4 separate regions of the Homo sapiens genome follow, and all the other regions are linked to region 1. Evidence: promoter capture Hi-C in human tissues and cell types (Jung and others, 2019). All regions are on one chromosome and are shown on one strand. Each heading gives the region's core, a stretch centred on a gene start or on the middle of the fragment in contact. The rest is flanking DNA. Distances are from core to core; before and after follow the strand shown.

Region 1 (3,179 bases), core at 314-2,813:
CCCGCCCCTTTCACCTGACAAGCCAGGGCCTCCAGCTCCTCTGGCCCAGCAGCCGAGACCCAGCCTCGCGGCGGCCTCCAGCTTAATCCGCTGTTGGGGCTGGAAAGGGGCGTGTCTTTGTAGGGACAGAAGGGGTCCGAGGAGTTCCCGGCACTTTCCCACCCGCTGTTTGGTTTTCCTGGAGATGGGCCTGGGGCTGGCCAGGCGGAGGCTCCTTCCCCCCGCCTCCCTCCCACGTGGCCTGGCTGAGTCTCTCTGGAAAGCCGCAGCAGCTGGAGAGAAATCCCCCTCCCCACCCCCACCTCCAAGTCCCTCCCCGACTCTCCCCGGACACATCCTCAGCTCCCCCCTCCGCGGGGAAGGCAAGAACTAGGCGAACAAAGCGGCCAGCCCATCCCCCTCCCAGCCCTGCCACCTACACTCCCCATGAGCCGCCCCCAAACGCACACCGGACAGGAAGCGACAGAGCTGTGGGTGGAAGCCGCAGCCCTAGACACACACCCTTGGGGACTTCGCTATCCCCTCCCCAGCCCTTTCTCCAGCTTGGACAACTCTGACTTACCCCGTACCCACTCCGCACTGGGCTGCGGACTGGATGAGGCCCTGCTGACCTCGTCCACGCTTCCCTGGTCGGTCCCTGGGGGGTGGGGCCGGGGTGACACGCGTCCCATCGTGAGAACAAGCGCTGGACATGTCCACGAAAGCAAATGGTTTCCTGCCCCCTCCCCCAGTCCACTGCTGGCCACAGGTTTTGGGGAGCAACACCTCCCTCTACCCCTCTCTAACCGGCCCCAGGGACCACACCCACTGGGCAAAGTTGAGTGTTGTTTTATCACCACCACCCCCAGTCAAACGGGATCCATCGCTCTGTCCCCCACTATGGGCAAGGACACTTCCCAAATGCCAAGGCCAAATATTAGCTCAGCCCCATAAACACAATTGCACACGCACCCGACCCAAATGGAGGTGCAGACACAACCCCAGTTCCCTCCTCTTTTACACACACTCTCAACCCAAGACACGCGCAGGCAAGGCAGAGCCCGCCCCGCGAAAGCCACCGACACCGCAGCTACCCGCCCCGCCGATGCCACGCCGCGACCATGGCACGCACTGCGGACACGACAGGAGCACTCCCAACACACACACACACACACACACACACACACACACACACGACTCCAGACTCTGCGAACCAAAGGCACACACCCACTGCGGACAAGCACGCCCCACAAACGCCCCCCGGCCGCAGCTCGCAGACCCCCGCGCAGGCATCGCGGGCACCTGGACGCGCAGCCCCCGCACTTGCTCGGGACTCCGGCTTGAGCCAGCCCCGCAGCCCGATGCAGACCAGGGCGCGGGCGCACCAGCACTCCGCAGTCGCTCCTGCCTCTCCGGGCGCCCGCCCTTACCGCGCGCGGCCAACAGGCAGAAGGTCAACGCGAGGAGCCCGCGGCCGCGGCCGGCGTCCCCCCGCGCCATGGGGCTGGGCTCGGGCCGCCGCCGCCGCCGCCGCCTCCCCGTGCTTCGGCCGCCGCCGCGGGGGGAGAGCGCGCCGGGCGTCAGTGGCCCGGGGAGGCGCGGCGCCGCGGGCGGGGGCGCGGCCTCGGGGGCCCGGGCCCGAGCTGGGGCCGGCGCGGGGGCCAGGGCCGCTGCCGCCTCACCCGCCCCTCCATCGCCATCTTGGGCGAGCGGCCCGGGAGGGGGCGCCCGGCGAGTGTGGCCACCCTGGCCCCGCCGGGGACCCTGCGCCCGCGCGCCACGGCCCTGCGCCTCGCGGGGGCTCCTCTCGGCCCGGGTCTGTGTCCCGGTGCCTCGCCCTCTCCGGGTCGCCGCGGGCCCCCGTGAGGCCGCCTGTTGCTGGGTCTGTCTCTTAGTCTCCCCGTCTCTGAGTCTTCTGGTCTCTCTGCCTCAGCGTCTCTATTTCTTCTCCCTGTTGCTGCCTCGGGGTCTCCACCTCCGTTCCAGGCTCAGGGGAGGCAGATTCAGGGCCACGGTCTTTGTCCAGATGGCCCCCTTGCCACCCGAGCCCAGTCCATTCCAGCCCAGGTCCTGGCCTGAATGCTGGTTCGCTTCTCCACACGTTGCGCCAGCCCACCTGCGGAGATCTTGATAGTCCTATCTGCCATCCCAAACCAAGGGCTTCTCTTGGCCTCCTTCCCTTGCTCTGGCAGTAACTAACACAGGCAGGACACTTTTACACTACCTTCAAGCACTACCATATTCAGATGTCGCCGCATGGGGAAACTGAGGCTGGAGAAGGTGAAGTGACTTGCCCAAGGACAGGAGGCTAGGGAGCAGCAGATACAGGACCTGAACCTTGGTTTTCTGACTTCGGAAGGTCATCTCCACTCCCTCACCCTGCCTCTGCTGTCCAGCATTTACTGAAGTACCCTTTTTCTCATTCTTCAACGGTACTTTCTCTAACCTACCTAGCCAGACTGTTTGCCTCAGTATCCCGCAAATATTTCTTGTTCTACAGCCAAGGGTTCAATTGTCAGGCTAGGGTGGGGAAAAGAGTACAGATTCAATGACCTAGTTAAGGTCCTTTCCAACTCCAAGATGCCATAGTTCTTCCCTTCCCTGTGTCTCTAAGTGTTCCTGTGACTTAGAGCCATCTTGTCTCTACACCTGTCTGTTGTCAGTTAACCCTCAATAATCACTGGCGCTTTGCATATCTAACAGGCCTGGCGTTTATTCATTCATTGCCACGCCCCATCTTCACTTGCCCTATCAGCAGCATTTGACTTAGTGAATCACTCCCTCTTCCTTGAAACACTTGCTTCCCTTAGTGATCTCATCTGGTCCTCAAGGCTTTAAAGAGCATCTTTATGCTAATGATGCCCAAATGTATACTTTCAGCCTAGACCATCTTTCCTGAACCCTGGACTTCTGTATCCAGCCATCCAGGCCCCAGTTCCTTTAGCTGTCTAGTAGACAAACTCATCCTGATCTTTTCTATCAATCTTTCTCCTCCCACAGTCTTCCTCATCTCAGTTCCTTTCCTGTTGCCCAGGTCAAAAATGTAGAGGCCAGGCTTGGTGGCTTACGCCTGTAATCCCAGCACTTTGGGAGGCCGAGGTGGGAGGATCGCTTGAGGCCAGGAGTTCAAGACCAACCTGGCCAGCATAGCGAGACCCCCATTTCTATTAAAAAAAAATGTAGAGTCATCTCCTACTCTT
Region 2 (3,179 bases), core at 315-2,814, 120 kb after region 1:
TGATGAAGGTGGCTGCACTGAACAACAGATTTTCAATGTAACAGCCTTCTACTGGAAGAAGATGCCGTGGAGGACTTTTATAGTTAGAGAGAAGTCAATGCCTGGCCTCAAAGCTTCAAAGGACAGTCTGACTCTTTTGTTAGGGGCTAATGCAGCTGGTGGCTTGAAGTTGAAGCCAGTGCCCCTTTACCATTCTGAAAATCCTAGGGCCCTTAAGAATTATGTTAAATCGGCCGGGCATGGTGGCTCATGTCTGTAATCCCGGCACTTTGGGAGGCCGAGGCAGGTGGATCACCTGAGGTCAGGAGTTCAAGATCAGGCTGACCAACATGGCGAAACCCCGTCTCTACTAAAAAATAAAAAAAATTAGCTGGGCATGGTGGCGGGCGCCTTTAATCCCAGCTACTTGGGAGGCTGAGGCAGGAGAATCGCTTGGATCTGGGAGGCAGAGGTTGCAGTGAGCTGAGATCGCACCACTGCACTCCAGCCTGGGCAATAGAGAGAGACTCTGTCTCAAAAAAAAAAAAAAAAAGAATTATGCTAAATCTACTCTGCCTATGCTCTGTAAGTGGAACAACGACTCCTGGATGATAGCACATTTGTTTACAGAATGGTTTACTGAATATTTTAAGCCCACTGTTGAGGCCAACTTCTCAGAAAAAAAAAAAAAAAAAAAAAAAAATATATATATATATATATATATATATATATATATATATATATGTATATTCCTTTCAAAATATTACTGCTCATTGACAGTGCACCTAGTCCCACCCAAGAGTGCTGATGGAAATGTCAAGGAGATTAATGTTGTTTTCATGCCCGCTAACATAACATTCCTTTTGCAGCCCATGGATCAAGGAATAATTTTGACTTTCAGGTCTTATTTAGAAAATACTTTCCGTAAGGTTAAAACTGTCGTAGGTAGTGATTCTGTGATGGATCTGGGCAAAGTCAATTGAAAACTTTCTGGAAAGGATTCACCATTCTAGATACCATTAAGATCATTTGTGATTCATAGGAAGAGGTCAAAATATAAAAATGAACAGGAGTTTCGAAGAAGTGGAATTCAACCCTCATGGATGATTTTGAGGGGTTCAAGACTTCAGTGGAGGTAGTAACTGCAGGTGTGGTAGAAATAGCAAGAGAACTAGACTTAGAAGTGGAGCCTGAAGGTGTGACTGAATGCAGCAATCTCATGATAAAACTTGAAGGGATGAGGAGTTGCTTCTTATGGATGAGCAAAGAAAGTGATTTATTGAGATGGAATCTATTTCTGATGAAGATGCTCTGAACATTGTTGAAATGACAATGAAGGGTTTATACTGTTTCATAAACTTAGTTAATAAAGCAGTGGCAGGGGTTGAGAGTATACTCTGATTTTAAAAGAAATTATTCTCTGGGTAAAACAGTATCAAACAGCATTGCATGCTGCAAAGAAATCTTTAGTGAAGGAAAGACTCAATCAATGAGACAAACTTCATTGTTGTCCTCCTTTAAGAAATTGCCACAGCCACTCCAGCCTTCAGCAGTCACCACCTGGATCAGTCCACAGCCATCAACATTGAGGCAGGACCCGCCACCAGCAAAAAGATTACAACTCCCTGAAAGCTCACATGATCATTAGCATTTTTTAGCAATGAAATATTTTAAAGTTAAGGTATGTACACTGTTTTTTAGAATAATACTGCATACTTAATAGACTATAGTATAATATAAACATAACATTTATATATACTGGGAAACCAGAAACTTTGTGTGACTCACTTTATTGTGATATTAGCTTTATTGTGGTGGTCTGGAACAGAACCTACAATAGCTCCAAGGTATGCCTGTAAATTAAAATGATAGGATACTGTTTCTCACATTAGAGTAGGAAAATTGAAAAAGCCTGACATGACCAAGTGTTTCTGAGAATGTTCAGTGACAGGACTTTTTTTTTTTTTTTTTTTTTTTTTTTGAGATGGAGTCTCACCGTGTCACCCCAGGCTGGATTGCAATGGCTCAATCTTGGCTCACTGCAATCTCCGCCTCCTGGGCTCAAGTGATTCTCCCGCCTCAGCCTCCCGAGTAGCTGGGACTACGGGCGCCCGCCATCATGCCCTGCTAATTTATGTATTTTTAGTAGAGATGGGGTTTCACCATGTTGGCCATGCTGGTCTCGAACTCCTGACCTCAAGTAATCTGCCTGCCTTGGCCTCCCAAAGCGCTAGGATTACAGACGTGAGCCACCGTGCCCAGCCGGACTTTTTTTATACAGTTGGTGGAAGTACTAATTGGTACAATTGATTTGGAGAACAGTTTTACACTATCTTGTCAAGCTGAAGTTGTATGTCTTTATGAGTTGGAAGTTTTGCTTTTTAGAGAAGCTCTTACACATGCAGGTGGAGGTAGAATGTTCATTGCAGCAAAAAATTGAAAACAGCCTCAATTTTTGTCAGCTGGAAGAATGGATAAATTGTGGTATATTTATACAATGGCACACTGTACAACAGCTACAATGAATGAAACAGAACCATCTTTATAGAATTAAAGCTTAGAAATATAATATCAAATAAAAAGCAAGTTGAAGAATGATATAGGCAGTATGAAATTATTTTTGTGACATGTCAAATCATACTGTATATTGTGAATGCCCAACGTGTTTTAATGAATAAATAAATACAGTGGAAACGACCAACTCCAATCCTGGAGTAGTGGTTACCTGCGAAGTTGGGGCATGTTTGAGGGAGAGGGCATTGGGATTGAGAAATTGTATAATGTATCTGTTTCTGTTTTATTTCTTTTTTTAAAAATTGAGGCAAATAAAGCAAAATGCTAATGGATGTTAGATATAGTGGTGTTTGCTATATTTTTCTGTTTGATTTTGCTTGAAATATTTAATAATAGAAATCAATAAGTCTAAGCTGTTTATTACCACAGTACAAAAACTACTTATAAAGCAGTAAGTTAAATAATCTGGTAACTGTTGACCACTCACAATGGTCCAGGCACAGTGCTAAGTACTAGATATTCAGTAATGAGCAACACATATAAAGGCACTACCTTCAGATTGAGGGAGACAGACAATAGATATGTTAATAAATAATTACCTAGATAAAGTGCTATGAGGGAAATAAAGAGGGTGATGAAATAGAGAATAATTGGTAGAGGCTATTTTAAATAGAGTGGTCAGGGAA
Region 3 (3,179 bases), core at 399-2,898, 100 kb before region 1:
TTTTGTTCTGAGACAGGATCTCCCTCTGTCACCCAGGCTGGAGAGCAGTGGTGCCATCATAGCTCACTATAACCTCAAACTCCTGGGCTTAAGTAATCCTCTAGCTTCAGCCTCCTGAGTAGCTGGGACTACAAGCATGAGCCACCACACCCAGTCTGAGTTAGTTTTTTTTGTATGGTGTAAAGGGTCCAGATTCATTTCTTTGCATGTGAATATCCAGTTGTCCTAGCACCATTTTTTGAAAAGACTATTCTTTCTCTACTGAATTGTCTTGGCACCCTTGTCAAAAACCAATTGACTATAAATGTGAGAGTTTATTTCTGGATTGTTGGTGCTATTTTATTGAGATATATGTTTGCCCAGATGCCAGGAATACACTTTTTAATTATTGTAGCTTTGTAGTAAACCAAGAAAGTATGAGTCCTCCAACTTTGTTCTTTGTTTTCAAGATTGTTTTAGCTATTTGGGATCCCTTGCATTTCCGTATAAATTTTCGAATCAGCTCATCAATTTCTGCAAAGAACCCAGCTGGGTCGACAACCCTTTGAGGTAGGGGCATATTATCTCTATTTTACAGACAAGGAAACAGAGGTGTAAAGAAGTTAAATCGTTTGCTCACGGTTACACAACTAGGAAATAGCAGAGCCAGGGGTTCAAACCACATCAGTTGGACTCTAGTGTCCACAGCCTGGGCCATGGCCACCACCTTCTTAGCTCCAGAGGGTGCCATGCTTCTCACTAGAAGACAGGGAACAGTGACAGCTCGTTGCTCTCAATAGCAGGGCACTGGCTCTGAGCTCTGTACTAGCTCCCAGGTGGCAAAGGGCTGAAGGCATAGCCACCAGCTGAGTTGGAGAAGGTCCCCCATATAAGGTGACACCCCAGCTAGGCATGGAAGGAGACACCTCACTGTTCTCTGATCCTGCTGGGGCTCTGGTTCTCCTCACCCCAGCCTCAGCCCAATAACTGGGGACTTGCTGGCCACGGGAGAGATGACCTCAAGCTTCCAGGCACAAAACTCTCCAATTCTTGACCCAAGACACTACTATAGCAGCCGGGATTGAACCAAAGTATGCTTTCTTGGTAGCTTTGTGACAGTGTCCCCAGTACTCCCAGTTAGACACTCTGATTCCTTCAGTGGTTATGAAGAAAGTGCTGGCAGCACAAGTCCACATAATGGGGAGCCAGCTTTTGAGGCAATGAGACAAAATGCAGCATAGGGCATCCTGGGCCTCGGGGAAGGAAGCCCCTCCAGAGAGCGAGAGAGACATCTGCAGGAAGAGGCACCATGACGAGGAGAAGCTGTGGGGAGCAGAGCCTGGTCAGAGGGTGGCTATTCTGGAGTAATAGCCAGGGCCAACCCTGCCTTGTGGTGGTGGCACGTGGTGCACGGTGACCAAGGGGCCATCCACGTTTGTGGGAACTCAGTGTCCATCCCTCTTGAGTCCAAGGAGCCCTTCCCTTCTCTGCCAGCCAGGCTCCTCCTCGGCCTCCTCTCAGCCCCTTCTTCTCCCTGCTCCCTCTCCGTTCCAAGGTAGCTCCAGGGGGGCTCAGGGGAGCAACAAAGCCCTCAGATCAGTCCCCAAGTCCCCTCGTACCTTTTTTTTTAAGACAGGTTCTCCCTCTGTCACCCAAACTGGAGTGCAATGGCACGATCTTGGCTCACTATAGCCTCAACCTCCCAGGCTCAAGCGATCCTCACACCTCAGCCTCCTGAGTAGCTGGGATTACAGGCATGTGTCACCATGCCTGGCTAATTTTTAAATTTTGTGTGGAGACGATTTTGCCATGTCGTCCAGCTGGTCTCGAATTCCTGGCCTCAAGCTGTCTTCCTGCCTTGGCCTCCCAAAGTGCTGGGATTACACAGTGAGCCACTGTGCCCAGCCCTCTAATACCTCTTTGAGAGAGGACCATGGGTTTAGCTGTTCCCCTCCCTGACTCAAGCCTTAACCCAGAATTTAAGGCAGGCCCCCAGCCTTAGCTGCCCCCACTCACTCATTCCCTGTGTCCAGCCCCAGTGTCCCCATAGGAGTTCGGGGCACCCTCTGTCTCCTGCCGTCCCCAGCTGTGTCCCCACCAGCCTCATGCACAGTCCCAGGGCCATGGGGTAAAGCTTTCCTCCCCTCCCTGCCTCCTGGCTCATATTTGTTCCCCACCTGTCCCTCCGGAGTGGCCCTGTGGTCATTTTATTTATTTATTTATCTATTTATTTGAGATGGAGTCTCACTCTATAGTCCAAGCTGGAGTGCAGTGGCATGATCTCGGCTCACTGCTACTTTCACCTCCTGGGCTCAAGTAATTCTCCCCGGCGGGTGAGCCACTGCACCCGGCCCCTGTGGTCATTTTAAAACAGTCCATACATTCTTTGACTCTCCATTGAAAAGAAGACTTTAATTCCCCTTGAATTCCCTGAATGTGGCTTGCCTTAGCGACTTGTTCTAAAGAGCTGACTATAGCAGAAGTGATGCTGTGTCACTTGGGCCGGCGTAGAAATGATGTTGCAGTTTCCACCTGGCTCTCTCTCTCAGGACGCTTGTCTTTGGAACCCAGCCACTATGCTGTGAGGAAGCCCAGGCCACACGGAGAGGCCATGTGGAGGTGCTGGGCTCACAGCCAGCATCAGCCACCAGACGCGGGAGGGAGGGAGCCTTCAGGGGATCCCAGCCCCCAGGCTTCAAGCTGCCCACGCTGATGCAGAGTGGAGCAGAGACAGCTGCCCCTGAGCCCTGCCCAGACTGCATATTTGTAAGCCAAATAAATGTGATGTGAAACCACCAAGGTTTGACGGCACTCCAGCCTGGGCAACACAGTGAGACCCTGTCTCTTAAAAAAAAAAAAAAAAAAAAAAAAAAAAGGCCGGGCATGGTGGCTCATACCTGTAATCCCAGCACCTTGGGAGGCCGAGGCAGGTGGATCACGAGGTCAGGAGATCGAGACCATCCTGGCTAAAACAGTGAGACCCCGTCTCTACTAAAAATACAAAAAATTATCTGGGCATGGTGGTGCTTATAATCCCAGCTACTCAGAAGGCTGAGGCAGGAGAATCGCTTGAACCTGGGAGGGGGAGGTTGCAGTGAGTGGAGATCACGCCACTGCACTCCAACCTGGGTGACAGGGTGAGACTTGGTCTCAAAAAAAAAAAAAAAAAATTGCCAGGCGTGATGTCTTACGCCTGTAAT
Region 4 (3,179 bases), core at 503-3,002, 65 kb before region 1:
TTTCGCCGATACACACCAAACACTTGGAGAAAGAGTGGGGAATTTACATACCTTAGTGCCCAGCTGTGTGCCACCAACCTGAAAGGACTGCCGAGGTTTAGGCAATGGCTGGGAGAGATGCGGGTAGAGAAGGCAGGAGAGAAAGACTGGGAAAAGAAGAGGGAAGATGGGGCACTGTGGGGAGCCTGGACTGATGAAGGGACTAGAGGAGTCGGGAAGAGGGAAATGGTCAGAAAGGGGAGGTCTGCAAAGCAAGGCCTCAGAATTTGGATTTAATGTCCCAAGCACGGAGGCCACTGTTTTGACCGAGATGCTCCTGGAAGCCAAGGCACCATGAGAAGCCCGGTAAGGCTGAGGCACTTCTTTTTTCACAGGTGAGGACACGAGGTGGCTCAACTTAGAAATCAATCAGAACTAAAGGAAACCACGGTGCAGATGGACAAGCCGATGGTCACACTATGTATGCATTCAAGAGATACTTTGTGCTACGTCAGGCTGCTTTTTCACCATCACCACCAAACAAAGTGGGTTTTTTTTTAAAGGCGAGGGTTGGGGGGGTGGGTGGGGAGATTACACCCTTCAAGATCAGGAAGTGTCTTATCTTTCTGTGCTATCCTTCACAGAGTACTTGGCACAGAGGCAGATAGGTGCAGGATAGATACTCTTAGAGATTTGCTGATGTGAGATTTGAGAATGGACCTGCTTTTTTTTTTTTTTTTTTTGAGATGGAGTCTTGCTCTGTCTTCCAGGCTGCAGTGCAGTGGCCTGATCTCGGCTCACTGCAACTTCTGCCTCCTGGATTCAAGCGATTCCCTTGCCTCCGCCTCCGAAGTAGCTGGGATTACAGGCAGGCACCACTATGCCCAGCTAATTTTTTTGTGTTTTTAGTAGAGATGGGGTTTCACCATGTTGGCCAGGCTGGTCTCGAACTCCTGACCTTAGGCAATCCGCCCACCTCAGCCTCCCAAAGTGCTGGGATTACGGGTGTGAGCCACCACACCCGGCCTGGACCTGCTTTAATACCCCTCAATTCTGCATATTCTTTTTCTGGAAACATGGACTTCCTAATCTCTTCTGATGGGCTCTTTGACTAATTCCACCTAAAGGAAGAATGATATGCTTATGTTCCAGTGTTCTATCAGATTTATTAAATGATTAATCAATTCTTTATCTGTTAAATAATTAGTGTTGCCCAGATCAACAGAAGGCTGTTGGCTAAACCAATAGCCCTTGGTTAGCACCATTTATTTGACACATATCACAGAGCCCTTTCTGAGGCTGCAGCATTTTCTAATGTCCATGTCACCATAATTCGATTATAAGCATTTTCTAGACTGCCCATAGCCAAACCCTTGCATAGAAGTATCCATCTATCCATCCATTTATTTGAGAATAAAATAAAAGAATGGGCAACACTTATTGAGGGACCAAACGAGCAGGAGCCAAGTTGTTCCTTGCTCTGACCAACTAACTGTATTTAACACTACCAAGCACTAGTAGTGACAGTGATACATGAAAAGCTTTCCAAAATTTAAGTATAACTCATTGTTTTCCTGAATCAAGGCTTAATCTAACCTTGGTCATAACCACAGATGTGATAAAAATGTTTTTCTTTATAACTCTCCTAAATGTTCATCTTAGAGTTATACTTCTTCTACCTAAGACTCTAGGCCCTTAAGCCCTCTTGGCATCACAGCACCTGCAGCTGCCGAACTACTCCCTGTTAGACCTATCTGCCTAGTTAGTCAGTTTAGAGAACTCCAAAACAAAACAAAACAAAAAGATAAAAGCTAAGCTGCCATTGATGGGGTAGATGTAGGATGCCTGGAACCCCACTTTGACCTCCCTTTTCCCCTCCACCTTCAGGATTCTAGGGAGAGGCTTAAAGCCCCCATTTCTAGAGAGAAAAAAGATCCAAGAAAACAACAGCTAGTTAGTTAGTAGCAGATCCAAGACATATTTTTTTTTTTTTTTTTCTGAGACAGGGTCTCACTTTGTCACCCAGGCTGGAGTACGGTGGCGTGATTTCAGCTCACTGCAGCCTCAACCTCTCAGGCTCAAGCGATCCTCCCACCTCAGCTCCCTAAGTACCTGGGACTACAGGCACCCACCACCATGCCTGGCTAATTTTTTGTATTTCGGTAGAGATGGAGTTTTGCCATGTTGCCCAGGCTGGTCTCTAACTCCTGGGTTCAAGTGATCTGCCTGCCTTAGCCTTCCAAAGTGCTGGGATTAGAGACATGAGACACTGCACGGAGCCCCAAAACCATTTTAATGCTATACAGGCCACTAGCTTCATTTTGCAAGACTAAAATGGCTGTTCAAACTGTAACTACAAATACATTTGTCACTATTTATCTCTATACATATGCCTTTGTGGGTTGCCTAGATTTCAACAAGGGTGCCTGAATGGCCAATCCTCAGATAAATTATATTTTGAGAAATGGCACATTCAAAAAGCAAGAGGAGCCTCCGGGCCTAAATTAGAGACTCAATACTTTTAACTGAAAAAGTGTCTTTATGTTTTATTTTATTTTAATTTTTGAGACATGGTCTCTCTCTGTCACCCAGGCTGGAGTGCACTGGTTCACTGCAGCCTCGAACTCCTGGGCTCAACCGATCCTCCCACCTCAGCCTTTTAAGTAACTGAAAAAGTGCTTTGATTTAGTTTATCTAATTAATTAGTTTATTTTTCTTTTAGATGAAGTCTCGCTCTGTCACCCAGGCTGGAGTGGAGTGGCGCGATCTTGGCTCAGTGCAACCTCCACCTCCCTGGTTCAAACAATTCTTGTGCCTCAGCCTCCCGAGTAGCTTGTATTACAGGTGTGTACCACCATGTCTGGCTAATTTTTGTATTTTTAGTAGAGACAGGGTTTCACCATGTTGGCCAGGCTGGTCTCGAAGTCCTAACTTCAAGTGATGCACCTGCCCCAAGTGCTGGGACTACAGGTGTGAGCCACTGCACCTGGCCTGAGAAAATGCTTTTAAATGATCTCTTCCTTTCCCAAACCCAAGACCATGAGTAACTTTAAAAATAATGCTCCATGGGTGAGTATTCTGATAGGAACATAATGAGTATAATAATGAGAGTATGTGTCCTTTTTTTCCCCCATTTCCACAGCAACTTGGGTTCACAGAATGCTTTGTTGTCATTATGGTTATAACAGGAAGGCAGGCAT

What was found. Contacts are between HindIII fragments. The study calls those that stand out against the background at their distance.
Region 2: a fragment that was not itself captured here is called in contact with the fragment with the promoter of IGDCC4 in region 1 in 3 of the 25 tissues and cell types used here (H1 embryonic stem cells, bladder and thymus).
Region 3: a fragment that was not itself captured here is called in contact with the fragment with the promoter of IGDCC4 in region 1 in 6 of the 25 tissues and cell types used here (H1 embryonic stem cells, bladder, lymphoblastoid cells and 3 more).
Region 4: a contact is called between a fragment that was not itself captured here and the fragment with the promoter of IGDCC4 in region 1, in 2 of the 25 tissues and cell types used here (heart left ventricle and neural progenitor cells).

The regions. Positions count from the first base shown.
Region 1 is chr15:65,421,384-65,424,562 of GRCh38, forward strand. IGDCC4 (immunoglobulin superfamily DCC subclass member 4) reads right to left here and starts at 1,564. Exons shown (of 20, transcript NM_020962.3): 1 at 1,410-1,564. The coding sequence starts at 1,479. RefSeq lists enhancers at 467-576, 597-866, 1,842-2,376. The HindIII fragment of the contact is 12,230 bases long and covers 1-3,179 here.
Region 2 is chr15:65,537,278-65,540,456 of GRCh38, forward strand. All of the region lies in intron 1 of HACD3 (3-hydroxyacyl-CoA dehydratase 3), which reads left to right. Among named protein-coding and RNA genes, the nearest start is that of HACD3, 8.4 kb to the left of the region's middle. The HindIII fragment of the contact is 3,444 bases long and covers 1-3,179 here.
Region 3 is chr15:65,320,680-65,323,858 of GRCh38, forward strand. No RefSeq gene overlaps it. Among named protein-coding and RNA genes, the nearest start is that of RNU5B-1, 18 kb to the left of the region's middle. The HindIII fragment of the contact is 4,268 bases long and covers 1-3,179 here.
Region 4 is chr15:65,356,146-65,359,324 of GRCh38, forward strand. The region is part of intron 2 of IGDCC3 (immunoglobulin superfamily DCC subclass member 3); the gene reads right to left. Among named protein-coding and RNA genes, the nearest start is that of IGDCC3, 20 kb to the right of the region's middle. RefSeq lists an enhancer at 1-390. The HindIII fragment of the contact is 8,320 bases long and covers 1-3,179 here.